4 separate regions of the Homo sapiens genome follow, and regions 1, 2 and 3 are each linked to region 4. The links are contacts of gene promoters, found by promoter capture Hi-C in human tissues and cell types (Jung and others, 2019). All regions are on one chromosome and are shown on one strand. Each heading gives the region's core, a stretch centred on a gene start or on the middle of the fragment in contact. The rest is flanking DNA. Distances are from core to core; before and after follow the strand shown.

The links. The method cuts DNA at HindIII sites, captures the fragments that hold promoters and counts their contacts. A contact is called where the count stands out against the background at its distance.
Region 1: the fragment with the promoter of ALOX12 here is called in contact with the fragment with the promoter of SLC16A11 in region 4 in 1 of the 25 tissues and cell types used here (pancreas).
Region 2: a contact is called between a fragment that was not itself captured here and the fragment with the promoter of SLC16A11 in region 4, in 3 of the 25 tissues and cell types used here (H1 embryonic stem cells, dorsolateral prefrontal cortex and spleen).
Region 3: the fragment with the promoter of CLEC10A here is called in contact with the fragment with the promoter of SLC16A11 in region 4 in 1 of the 25 tissues and cell types used here (spleen).

What each region holds. Positions count from the first base shown.
Region 1 is chr17:6,994,630-6,997,329 of GRCh38, reverse strand. ALOX12 (arachidonate 12-lipoxygenase, 12S type) reads right to left here and starts at 1,281. Exons shown (of 14, transcript NM_000697.3): 1 at 1,078-1,281; 2 at 303-504. The coding sequence starts at 1,212. All of the region lies in intron 2 of ALOX12-AS1 (ALOX12 antisense RNA 1), which reads left to right. The HindIII fragment of the contact is 20,112 bases long and covers 1-2,700 here.
Region 2 is chr17:7,098,587-7,101,286 of GRCh38, reverse strand. No RefSeq gene overlaps it. Among named protein-coding and RNA genes, the nearest start is that of ASGR2, 15 kb to the left of the region's middle. The HindIII fragment of the contact is 3,021 bases long and covers 1-2,700 here.
Region 3 is chr17:7,078,948-7,081,647 of GRCh38, reverse strand. CLEC10A (C-type lectin domain containing 10A) reads left to right here and starts at 1,397. Exons shown (of 9, transcript NM_001330070.2): 1 at 1,397-1,596. The HindIII fragment of the contact is 8,990 bases long and covers 1-2,700 here.
Region 4 is chr17:7,042,842-7,045,541 of GRCh38, reverse strand. SLC16A11 (solute carrier family 16 member 11) reads left to right here and starts at 1,450. Exons shown (of 5, transcript NM_001370549.1): 1 at 1,450-1,767; 2 at 2,023-2,230; 3 at 2,469-2,612. The coding sequence starts at 2,029. LOC124903909 (a long non-coding RNA gene) reads right to left here and starts at 2,475. Exons shown (of 2, transcript XR_007065598.1): 1 at 2,302-2,475. RefSeq lists silencers at 1,844-1,973, 2,044-2,103. The HindIII fragment of the contact is 14,065 bases long and covers 1-2,700 here.

The sequences.
Region 1 (2,700 bases), core at 32-2,531, 48 kb after region 4:
TTCTCTGTTTTCCTGGATCGCTGCAACTCCCACTTTCTGTCTTTGCCTTCTTGGAAGATGGGATCTCCAGATCACTTACTCCCTGCCTCCAGCCTCACACGCAGCCTCTCTTAGCCTGTGTAAAACTTTGGGAATTCATAACTCCTTCCCGTTTTCTGTCCAGCACCCTGGGATCCCTACATTTCACCTGCCCTGGGCCCATACATCCTCTAAGTCTGCTCCGACCGTCCTTAACTCTGCCCTCCTAGCCCCGCAGCAGTTCCCGAGACCTTGTGCCTCCTTCCCCGACGCCGCCTGCTCACCGGTGCCCTCGGGCAGGCTCAGGATGTCCTCGCCCTGCACCCAGCGGTAGCACGGGAAGGCCACCTCCGCGCAGGCTCCAGGGCCCTGCACCGTGATGCGGTCGCAGAACCACGCGTCGTCCACCAGCCAGTGGTGCTTGCGCAGCCTCACGAACTGCAGGAGCCCCAAGTCCTCTGCAACGTCATGATCAAACTCCTCCTCCTGTGCAGGCCGGACCCAGGCCAGACTTAGTAGGAGGGACCCGACTGAGGCCGTTTCGAGGACAGAGCCGCGCTCCTGTGCAACCTCAGTTTCTCAGGGCCTCCAAAGACAGCATCGCCTCGTTCCCGCCCCCGCACAACCTGCTCTTTGGGTCTCAGACGCCCGGAGTCGGGTGGAGGACGAGGGCCCGCAGCGCCTGGAGCTGATGCTGGAGCAGCATCGCCCACGTGGGTCCCATTAACTGAGCTCTCCCCGCGCCGGTTCTTGGAGGAGCTTCACGTCTGACCTCTGGCCTCATACTTACATTGGCTCTGGGTCACTGGGAGAAGGAGCTGGGGGCTGCCGGGACCAGGGGCGGGAAAGGGAGATGGGGTTGAGCCCAGCCCGGGATCCCAGCTGCGGACCCTGTCCCTAATCTTGCCCACCTCGTCCCAGCTTCGTGGAAGTCCCAGTCCGCGAGGTCGCGCTGTCACCTCGCCCCCAGCCTCCCGCCCTCCCGCCGCGAGCCCAGCTCGGCCCGGGCCTGGGCCCGGGGTCCCCGCTGCCCTAGCTCCCCTCGCTCCCCGCGCTGACCTCGCCCCGCGCGGGCCGCAGCTGCAGCTCCAGCTCCGCCTCCCCGCGCGTCCCGACCAGCCAAAGCTGCACGCGGTTGTACGACCCGGAGAAGAGCCAGGCCCCGGTGGCCACGCGGATGCGGTAGCGGCCCATGGCGCCCCCCAGCAGCTTAGGCGAGGGGAGCCGGGTCCTGTGCGATTCCCGGGACCGCCCAGGGCTGCCGGCGCCTCGGGGCCACTTCCAACCTTTAAAGGACCGGTCTGCGGCCCCGCCCTCCTCGCAAGTTTTAGGCGCTCCCAAGTCCCCGCCCCAGACTAGCCCAAACCTGCGAGCAGAGCGGTAGAGCCGGCTGTGGGGACTGGCTGTGCCTCCTGGTCGGAGCGTAGCTGCAGGATGATAAAGGGGCCCGAGCCAGGGTGAGGCCAACGGGGTGGGTGCGGCGGGACCTTCCTGGACCTCCCGGGAAGGCGGGATCGAGGTGGGCCTGAGCCCCCGGGTTGGAGCGAACATAGATGAGAACACTTCCCGAGGTCTCCAGGTCTTCTGGGGAGCCAGGAGGAAGTAGGGGATGAGTCCATCTTCCAAACGGAGGGGAAGGTCTCCGCTTTTCTGGGCTGGGACCCGGGGAAGGCAGTGGGCCGGCTTCTGGAAGGTCGGCCTGGGAGGCCGTGCTGGGGTCTGGGGATGTCCCGCGGCTAGACCCGGCGCGGCCCATGTGTCCTCCAGTACCTGAGCTCTGCCGCCCTTGAACGCTGTGCTTCCGTCAACGACCAGGGGTTCCCCAGGGTACCTAGAACCTGGAAATGTAGCAGCTCAACACCCGCTCCCCACCCCGTTTCAAATATCTGGGCGCTGGGGTCCCAATGTACACCAAATATCATGGGCCAGACCTTTGAGAGAGGCCTGAGGCAGGGCAGTGAAAAACTCATTTTGTCCAACCTCCGAAGCGGGTACAGACAATGTTAGGGACCCAGGAACACCAGTCGGGGTGTTAGGGTGCGGGATGGAATTGCTTAGGGACCTGGCCTACGTGGCCAGTTCCCAAGAACTTTGTCTTTTCCAGGTGAGTGCAGCCCCTTCCGCTCCAGTAGGTTCCAGATTAATTTTTTATCCCCAAGCTCTTTCCTGCTCCTTCATGGGTCTCAGGTCTCCTGGAAATCCAGGAACAGCAATTAGCCCACTGCTATTTAGGGCCTTTGTAAACATTGAAGGATGATTCGGAGCTTAGGCTTTCTCTCCCGTGTCAGGAATCAGTCAGATGAAGCCTGCTGCACGCGTCCCTGTCTAGATCTTGATTCAAGTGATTATATGCATTTGGATCTCCGTGGATGCATCTGGTGGCCTGGGCTAGGCCAGTGTAAGTTAAATCTGCTTTCTTGAGCCAGTCCTCAGAAATGACTTGGTGGCCTAGTTGTTGGTAGAGGTAAGTGAGTGGGAGTTTTAGCCCCGCCTTCCAGCCTCCAGATCAGACTCTATCTCAAAAATAAATAAATAAATAAATAAAAATAAAAAAATAAAGTGTCTGTCCCTTACTGGATTCAATTCCCTTTCTTATCTTCTAGGTCCACTCTGGCCTACATCCTCTGCTCAGGACTGCAGGTCGGCCATTTGCTGGTCCCCAGTTCTTCCAGTTTTCTGGGG
Region 2 (2,700 bases), core at 46-2,545, 56 kb before region 4:
TGCAAAGAGGAGGGAGAGGGGAGGGCATGGAAGACGCAAGGCGCGCATCCTAGACAGCTGCTCCTTGGTCCCTAATCCCGAGGGACATTGGTCAGGGAAACGGGAAAGGGGCTTGGAGCAGACAGGCTTAGTGGCTGGCACTGGTGGGAAAGGGGTCGGCCGGGCTGTGGCTGGAGGGTCCGCCTGGCTCCCAGTGAGAGGTGACAGCGTGCTGGCAGTCCTCACAGCCCTCGCTCGCTCTCGGCGCCTCCTCTGCCTGGGCTCCCACTTTGGCGGCACTTGAGGAGCCCTTCATCCCGCCGCTGCACTGTGGGAGCCCCTTTCCGGGCTGGCCAAGGCCGGAGCCGGCTCCCTCAGCTTGCAGGGAGGTGTGGAGGGAGCGGCGCTTGCGGGCCAGCGCGATTTCCGGGTGGGCGTGGACTCGGCGGACCCCGCACTCGGAGTGGCCGGCCTGCCCCACCGGCCGCGGGCAGTGATGGGCTTAGCACCTGAGCCAGCAGCTGCTGTGCTCAATTTCTCGCCACGCCTTAGCTGCCTTCCCGCGGGGCAGGGCTTGGGACCCGCAGCCCGCCATGCCTGAGCCTCCCCGACCCCCGCTCCGTGGGCTCCTGTGCGGCCCGAGCCTCCCCGACCAGCGCCGCCCCCTGCTCCAGGGCGCGCTCAGTGCCATCGACCACCCAAGGGCTGAGGAGTGCGGGCGCAGGGCGCGGGACTGGCAGGCAGCTCCACCTGCGGCCCCAGTGCAGGATCCATGGGGTGAAGCCAGCGGGGCTCCTGAGTCTGGTGGGGACTTGAAGAACCTTTATGTCTAGCTAAGGGATTGTAAATGCACCAATTGGCACTCTGTATCTAGCTCAAGGTTTGTAAACACACCAATCAGCACCCTGTGTCTAGCTCAGGGTTTGTGAATGCACCAATTGACACTCTGTATCTAGCTACTCTGGTCGGGAAGTCGAGAACCTTTGTGCCTAGCTCAGGGATTGTAAACGCACCAATCAGGCCAGATAAGAGAATAAAAGCAGGCTGCCCCAGCCAGCAGCGGCAACCCACTCGGGTCCCCTGCCACACTGTGGAAGCTTTGTTCTTTCGCTCTTTGCAATAAATCTTGCTGCTGCTCACTCTTTGGGTCCACACTGCCTTAAGAGCTGTAACACTCACCACGAAGTTCCGCAGCTTCACTCCTGAGCCAGTGAGACCATGAACCTACCAGAAGGAAGAAACTCTGAAGACATCTGAACATCAGAAGGAACAAACTCCAGACACGCCGCCTTTAAGAACTGTAACACTCACCGCGAGGGTCCGCGGCTTCATTCTTGAAGTCAGTGAGACCAAGAACCCACCAATTCCGGACACACCAGGGCTCCCAAAGGAAACATCTTTCTCTGCGGTTGGGTTCTCCCCAGACCGGGTCGCAGGGCATACCCCAGCTCCACTCTCAGCCTTCAAGGAAAATGGTCACGACGAGGAGGAGGATGGGTAAGTCACTTTCTCACCACCGTGGCTCTGTCTTTTTGACCCCAAGCGGATCTAGACATATCTTCAACACAGGGTGTCACCAACAATCTCCACAGTGGGCAAACTTCCCGCTCCAAGAACATTCTGAAACTGACCTTAAAAAGACTATTCAGCGGTTATATTATTTATTTAAGTTGGAGTCTTGCTGTGTTGCCCAGGCTGGAGTGCAATGGTGCGGTCTTGGCTCACTGCAACCTCCACCTCCCGGGTTCAAGCGATTCTTCTGCCTCAGCCTCCCGAGTAGCTGGGATTACAGGCATGCGCCACCACACCCAGCTAATTTTTGTATTTTTAGTAGAAACAGCGTTTCGCCATGTTGGCCAGGCTGATCTTGAACTCCTGACCTCGGGTGATCCGCCCGCCTCTGCCTTCCAAAGTGCTGGGATTATAGGCATGAGCCACGGGGCCCGGCCCCATATTTTTAAATTTTTAAAGTACAGAAGTAATACATTCTATTAGTAAAAAAATGTTTTAAATGACACACACACACGCACGCACACGAGTGTCCTCTCAGTCCTCCTCCGTCTCCCCAGAGTCAACTCTTTCCTGTGTCCCCTGCCAGAGCCCTTCCTGTGTACATGAGTAGATGCAATATTATGTCATTACATAGTGCCTGTTCCGCTTCACAGTGTCTCGTGGACACCAGTCTAATCTATGCCATTACCTGGCAGGTTTTACCTCCTTGGATTTAGCAGCTGTAGAGAATTCCAAAGTAGGGATGTACCATGCATTATGTAATCATTCTCTGTAGGGGGCAAGTAGTTACCACTTTTGTTTCTTTGTTTTCACATAGAATGTTTCAAAGTAATTTTTTTGCTCATAAGCTTGGGATAGGTCAAGACTTCCCACTTTTCAGTTGAAAAATTTTCTAGGATTGCCCCTTCAAAATGTACACGATTGGGATTAAATTTAAAAAACCGTGAAAATAGGCTGGGTGCAATGGCTCATGCCTATAATCTTAGCATTTTGAGAGGCTGAGGTGGTGGGTCGCCTGAGCTCAGGAGTTTGAGACTAGCCTGGGCAATATGGCGAAACCCAGTCTGTACAACATGCACACACACACACACACACCCCAGCTGGATGTGGTGGTGCATCCCTGCAGTCCCAGCTACTTGGGAGGCTGAGATGAGGGGATAGTTTGAGCCCAGGAAATTGAAGCTGCAGTGAGCTGTGACTGTGTCACTA
Region 3 (2,700 bases), core at 148-2,647, 36 kb before region 4:
AATAGCTTGTACCCCAAATTCAGCCTCAACCTTGGCTTCCAAAAACCGAACCTGCGACATATACTAATCAAAATACCGAATACCAAATAAAAACAAAACTGGCAACGACCTGGCCGGGTGCGGTGGCTCGCGCCTGTAATCCCTGCACTTTGGGAGGCTGAGGCGGGCAGATCATGTGAGGTCAGGAGGTCAAGACCAGCCTGGCCAATATGGTGAAACCCCTCTCTACTAAAAATACAAGAATTAGCTGGGTGTGGTGGCGGGACCTGTAATCTCGGCTACTCGGGAGGCTGAGGCAGGAGAATCGCTTAAACCCAGGAGATGCAGTAGCCGAGATTGTGTCACTGCACTCCAGCCTGGGCAACAGAGTGAGACTCTGTCTCAAAAAAATAAATAAATAAATAAAATAAAAAAGAAAAGAAAAAGAAACAACTTAAATTTCTGATTTATTTCTGTCAATAGAGAAATGCTAAATAAATAAATTACGGTGCCTATGATGAAATGAGGTGCAGGTAGATCAAGTACATTTTATAAACTGATGTGGAGAAATGTTCCTGATAGCTTGTTAACTCCAAAAAAAAAAAAAAAAAGCACATAGCAGAACACAACCCCATGTACATACAAAATATAACCTAAAATGTATTTCTTCTCCTTCTCCACCTTGTAAGATACTCAGTTTCCTTCCTACTGAAAGGGATGTGCGCGTGGATTCAGGGCAGCTCCCTTAGGGGTTGAGCAGGGATCATGGGATGAAATGGAATCCTGTTCATGAAGACAGCGCCTGTGCTGAGAGCCAGAGCAGGGTGCCAAACTGTCTCCTTACAAGCTGTGAGTGATCTTGGGCTCTGAGCCTTTAGTCCGTCATCCAAAATGCCTCCCCAGGTGCTTGGGGGGAATGGTTGTGGAAGGTAAATGTCTGGCATAATCCTATCACAGATTACTCAATAAAATTTGCTCTTTTCCTTGGCTTCTCCCGTCCTATTAGGGCCAAGAAGTTCTATTCTCTGGCACCCCCTTCCCTCCTTCCGAGTGGAGTGAGGCGAGCGAGGCCACAGCTGAGCAGCCGAATGACTGGGACCCAGAGGATGCTGATGCCAGGGACTCAGGCCAGGATTGAGCAAGAGAACAGACTGGGCTTCTCTAGGATCAGAGGTGCGATGATGGAGACCCAACAATTCTGGGAAATGTAGAGGCAGGAAGTGAAAGGAAGTGTAGGGTAGAGGAGCAACAGCAGATTGTACCTCTGATCCAGCCCTGCTCCCAGATGGTAAAAATGAGGAAGCTCCGAGAAGAGGAAAGGAAGTAGGCATGGCCTGGAGGAGGAGAACAGAGCTGGCCTCAAACCCAACTCTCCCCACCCACACATGGTCTCTGTGTGTTCTAATCCCTGTTCATTCTCATTTACTGTCTAAAGTTGAGGAGATGGGATGTCCCAGATGATAGGGCTCCTGGGATTTCAGACCCAAGACCAGCAGGACTCCAGTCACCTCTACCCCAGCTCTCCAGGACACAGCGCTCCCAACTCTGAGTGACGTCCCACCTCTGGTCCTTGCAGCACAACCAACGTGGGAATCACACCCTCCAGACCTCCCACAGGTAATGGTGCTGCCGGTGCCGGTGAGACCCAGGGGACAGGGGATGTCAGAGGAAGCAGGGAGAGGGGGACTTTGGGTCTTGGGTGGGACTAAATGAAAATAAATATAAGGCGGCAGTGTGGGGTTTAATTACTACGTGGAGATTTGAGACTCTGTTCCCTTCACTGGATTCTAGATTGGGTTACGGCAGCCACAATCCCCTGTCATAAACTAAGACTCCGGGAGCTGAGGCAGGAGAATCTTGTGAACCCAGGAGGCAGAGGTTGCAGTGAGCCGAGACGGCCTCGTTGCACAACAGCCTGGGCGACAAGAACGAAATTCCATCTCAAAAAATAAATAAATAAAAATAAAAATAAACTAAGACTCAGACTCAGCCTCATTGGTGGCCCATTTCCAGCCTTATCTTCATCTCAGCCCAGCCATGCCCTAATCCCAATACTAACCCCAGCTTCTACATTTTCTTTTTTTTTGAGACTGAGTCTCACTGTGTCGTCCAGGCTGGAGTGCAACGGCACAACCTCGGCTCACTGCCACCTCTGCCTCCTGGGTTCAAGTGATTCTCCTGCCTCAGCCTCCCAAGTAGCTGGGATTACAGGCGCACACCACCACACCCAGCTAATTTTTGTATTTTTAGTAGAGATGGGGTTTCACCATGTTGGCCAGGCCGGTCTCAAACTCCTGACCTAAAGTGATCTGTCTGCTTCGGTCTCCCAAAGTGCTGGGATTTATAGGCGTGAGCCACCGCACCTGTCGCCCCCCACCCAGCTCCTACTTCAACCCCAACCCCAGAATCAACTTGAATTTTAACACCAGCCCAAAGCCAAAATTGAACCTCGACTCTATTCTGTTTCCAAATTCACCACCAAAGTTAACCCCAATTCCATCCATGGCTCCAACGTGCATACTGACCCCAATCCTAGCATGAGATACAACCTCCAGTCCTGCCTGATTAACTGGCCCACTGGGTAGTCCTAGCAATGCGTTTAGCTCCAACGTTACCCTCCAGTTTCACTCCCAAACTCAACTCGACCCCAATTCTAACTCGACTGCAAACCCAGGCTCATTTCCGTCTTAACCCTGGGCTCATTCTCAACCTGAGCCTCAT
Region 4 (2,700 bases), core at 201-2,700:
TTGCTTGAGCCTGGGAGGTGGAGGCTGCAGTGAGCCATAATGGCAGTACTACACTTCAGCCTGGACAAGACCCTGTCTCTATAAATAAATACACACACACATACATACATACATACATACATACATACATACATACATACATAATAAAAAATAAAATTCTAACCTAAGTGTTTAGAGATTCTGATCTCAAGAATCCTTTCTATTCCCAGTGACCCCTTATTTTAGACTCATAAGTTTTCTGTCCCTGCAATGGTTCCACCCTTTCCAGGGCAGTTTGCTTCAAGCTGTATCCAGGATCTTTCCCTTAACTGTGCCAGATTTTGTTTCAGTCCTGGGATTGTTCTCCTTGTAGGTCCACAGTTGGACAGACCTAAATTCAAATATCCATACCATTTTTTCCCTGAGAGCTTCAGTTACTGCATCTATAAAAGAGGCACGACATCGGCCAGGCGCGTTGGCTCACTCCTGTAATCCCAGCACTTTGGGAGGCCGAGGTGGGCGGATCATCTGAGGTCAGGAGTTCCAGACCAGCCTGGCCAACATGGCGAAACCCCATCTCTACTAAAAAATACAAAAATTAGCTGGGAGTGGTGGCAGGCGCCCGTAATCCCAGCTACTCAGGAGGCTGAGGCAGGAGAATGGCTTGAACTTAGGAGGCAGAGGTTGCAATGAGCCGAGATCTCGCCACTGTACTCCAGCCTGGGCTACAGAGTGAAACTCCATCTAAAAAAAAAAAAAAAGAAAAGCGACACCTTCTTCATAGGGTTATCATAAGATGAAGTGATAGCATGTGTAAACGGTGCCTGGTACACTGCAGGTCTTCACATTGAGGGAGTCGTGTTTCATCCCTCTGTCCTTGAGGACCTGTTATTTTATTTTATTTATTTTATTTTTGTTTATTTATTTATTTTTGAGACAGAGTCTTTCTCTGTCACCCAGGCTGGAGTGCAGTGGCATGATCTTGGCTCACTGCAACTTCTGCCTCCCGGGTTCAAGCGATTCCCCGCCTCAGCCTCCCAAGTAGCTGGGACTACAGGCGCCCGCCACCACACCCGGCTAATTTTTTTTGTATTTTTAGTAGATATGGTGTTTCGCCATGTTGGTCAGGCTGGCCTCGAACTCCTGACGTCAGGTGATTCACCCACATCGGCCTCCCAAAGTGCTGGGATTACAGGCTTGCACCGCGCCCGGCCTGGGGGTCTGTTATTCTAAGCACAGAGCTGGCACTTGGTGGAGGTCTGTGATCTGATTGATATCCGAGATTTACCTGGTCCTCGGCAACGTTCCTGAGAACAAAACTACTCATCCCCTCAGGTTTTGGGGACCATCCCTATTTCCACGCGTTGGCGGTGGACCCTGGGCTCGCTGGGGTTTGCAATCCACGTGTCTCCCCTGCGCGCAGCAGGCGGCAGGTGCATGCGTGTGAGTAGGGCAGGGCCCCTCTGCATTCATTTCTCGCCGCTCCCCCCTCCCCCGGGCCTGGGGGTTGTGTGTGTACATAATTCAATCCCCGTGGGACTGGCGTCTGGCCTCACGCGCGGCTTGCCGGATTGGCTGTTTCAGCTCGCCCCCGCCCTCCGTACACCCCGCGTCCCAGGTGGCTCAGGCCCCTGTGGTGATCTCTGTTTACCGAGAGAGCCCGTCCAAGTTGGGCTCCATCGCTGCCCTCGCTCCCCTTCGGGGCCCCCGCCCGCCTGGGAAGCAGAGAGAAAGCCGGGCCCAGCCCTTCCTCACCCTTCCCCTCCCCGCACCGCCCGGAGAGGTCGGGTAAGGGGGAAGGAGTGTGCGTGGGACGGGGAACCTCGGGCCTGGGGATCTGGCTGTCCCCGTCCCCGTACCTCGCGCGGACCCGGGAGTTCCAGCCCTAGGCCAGGCTCCGGCTCCCTCCGCCCCGCGCCATCGCGCTCGGAGTGACGGGCCCACCCCGGGCGAGCAGCCAGAGGCTGGATCTCAGGGATGCCAGCTCCCCAGCGGAAGCACAGGCGTGGAGGCTTCTCTCACAGATGTTTCCCCACCCCGCAGACGGCGATGACCCCCCAGCCCGCCGGACCCCCGGATGGGGGCTGGGGCTGGGTGGTGGCGGCCGCAGCCTTCGCGATAAACGGGCTGTCCTACGGGCTGCTGCGCTCGCTGGGCCTTGCCTTCCCTGACCTTGCCGAGCACTTTGACCGAAGCGCCCAGGACACTGCGTGGATCAGCGCCCTGGCCCTGGCCGTGCAGCAGGCAGCCAGTGAGGGGGGCCCTGAGGCGGGAGACAGGAACGGGGAGGAGGAGCCGTGAGTGGAGGGATGGGAGACCCACCTGATTACCCGACAACCTGAGAAAGGGCAACCGGCTCTAGAAAAGAGTGCATCTTGAGGTCAAGGAGAAGAACCATTAGTTCGAGGGAGGCAAACAGCCAATGAGAAGTGTTGGAGAGAGTTTGGGGGCCCGGGGGCGTGTCTTCCGTTGACTCCGCCCCCTTTCAGGCCCCGTGGGCAGCGCCCTGAGCACGCGCTGGGGGGCCCGCCCCGTGGTGATGGTTGGGGGCGTCCTCGCCTCGCTGGGCTTCGTCTTCTCGGCTTTCGCCAGCGATCTGCTGCATCTCTACCTCGGCCTGGGCCTCCTCGCTGGTGAGGGAAGTGGGATGCCCGGGTCATTCAGGGTGAAGGAGGTGACAGGAGCTTGTTGGGATCTGGGGTAGCGAACGAGGCGGGGGCC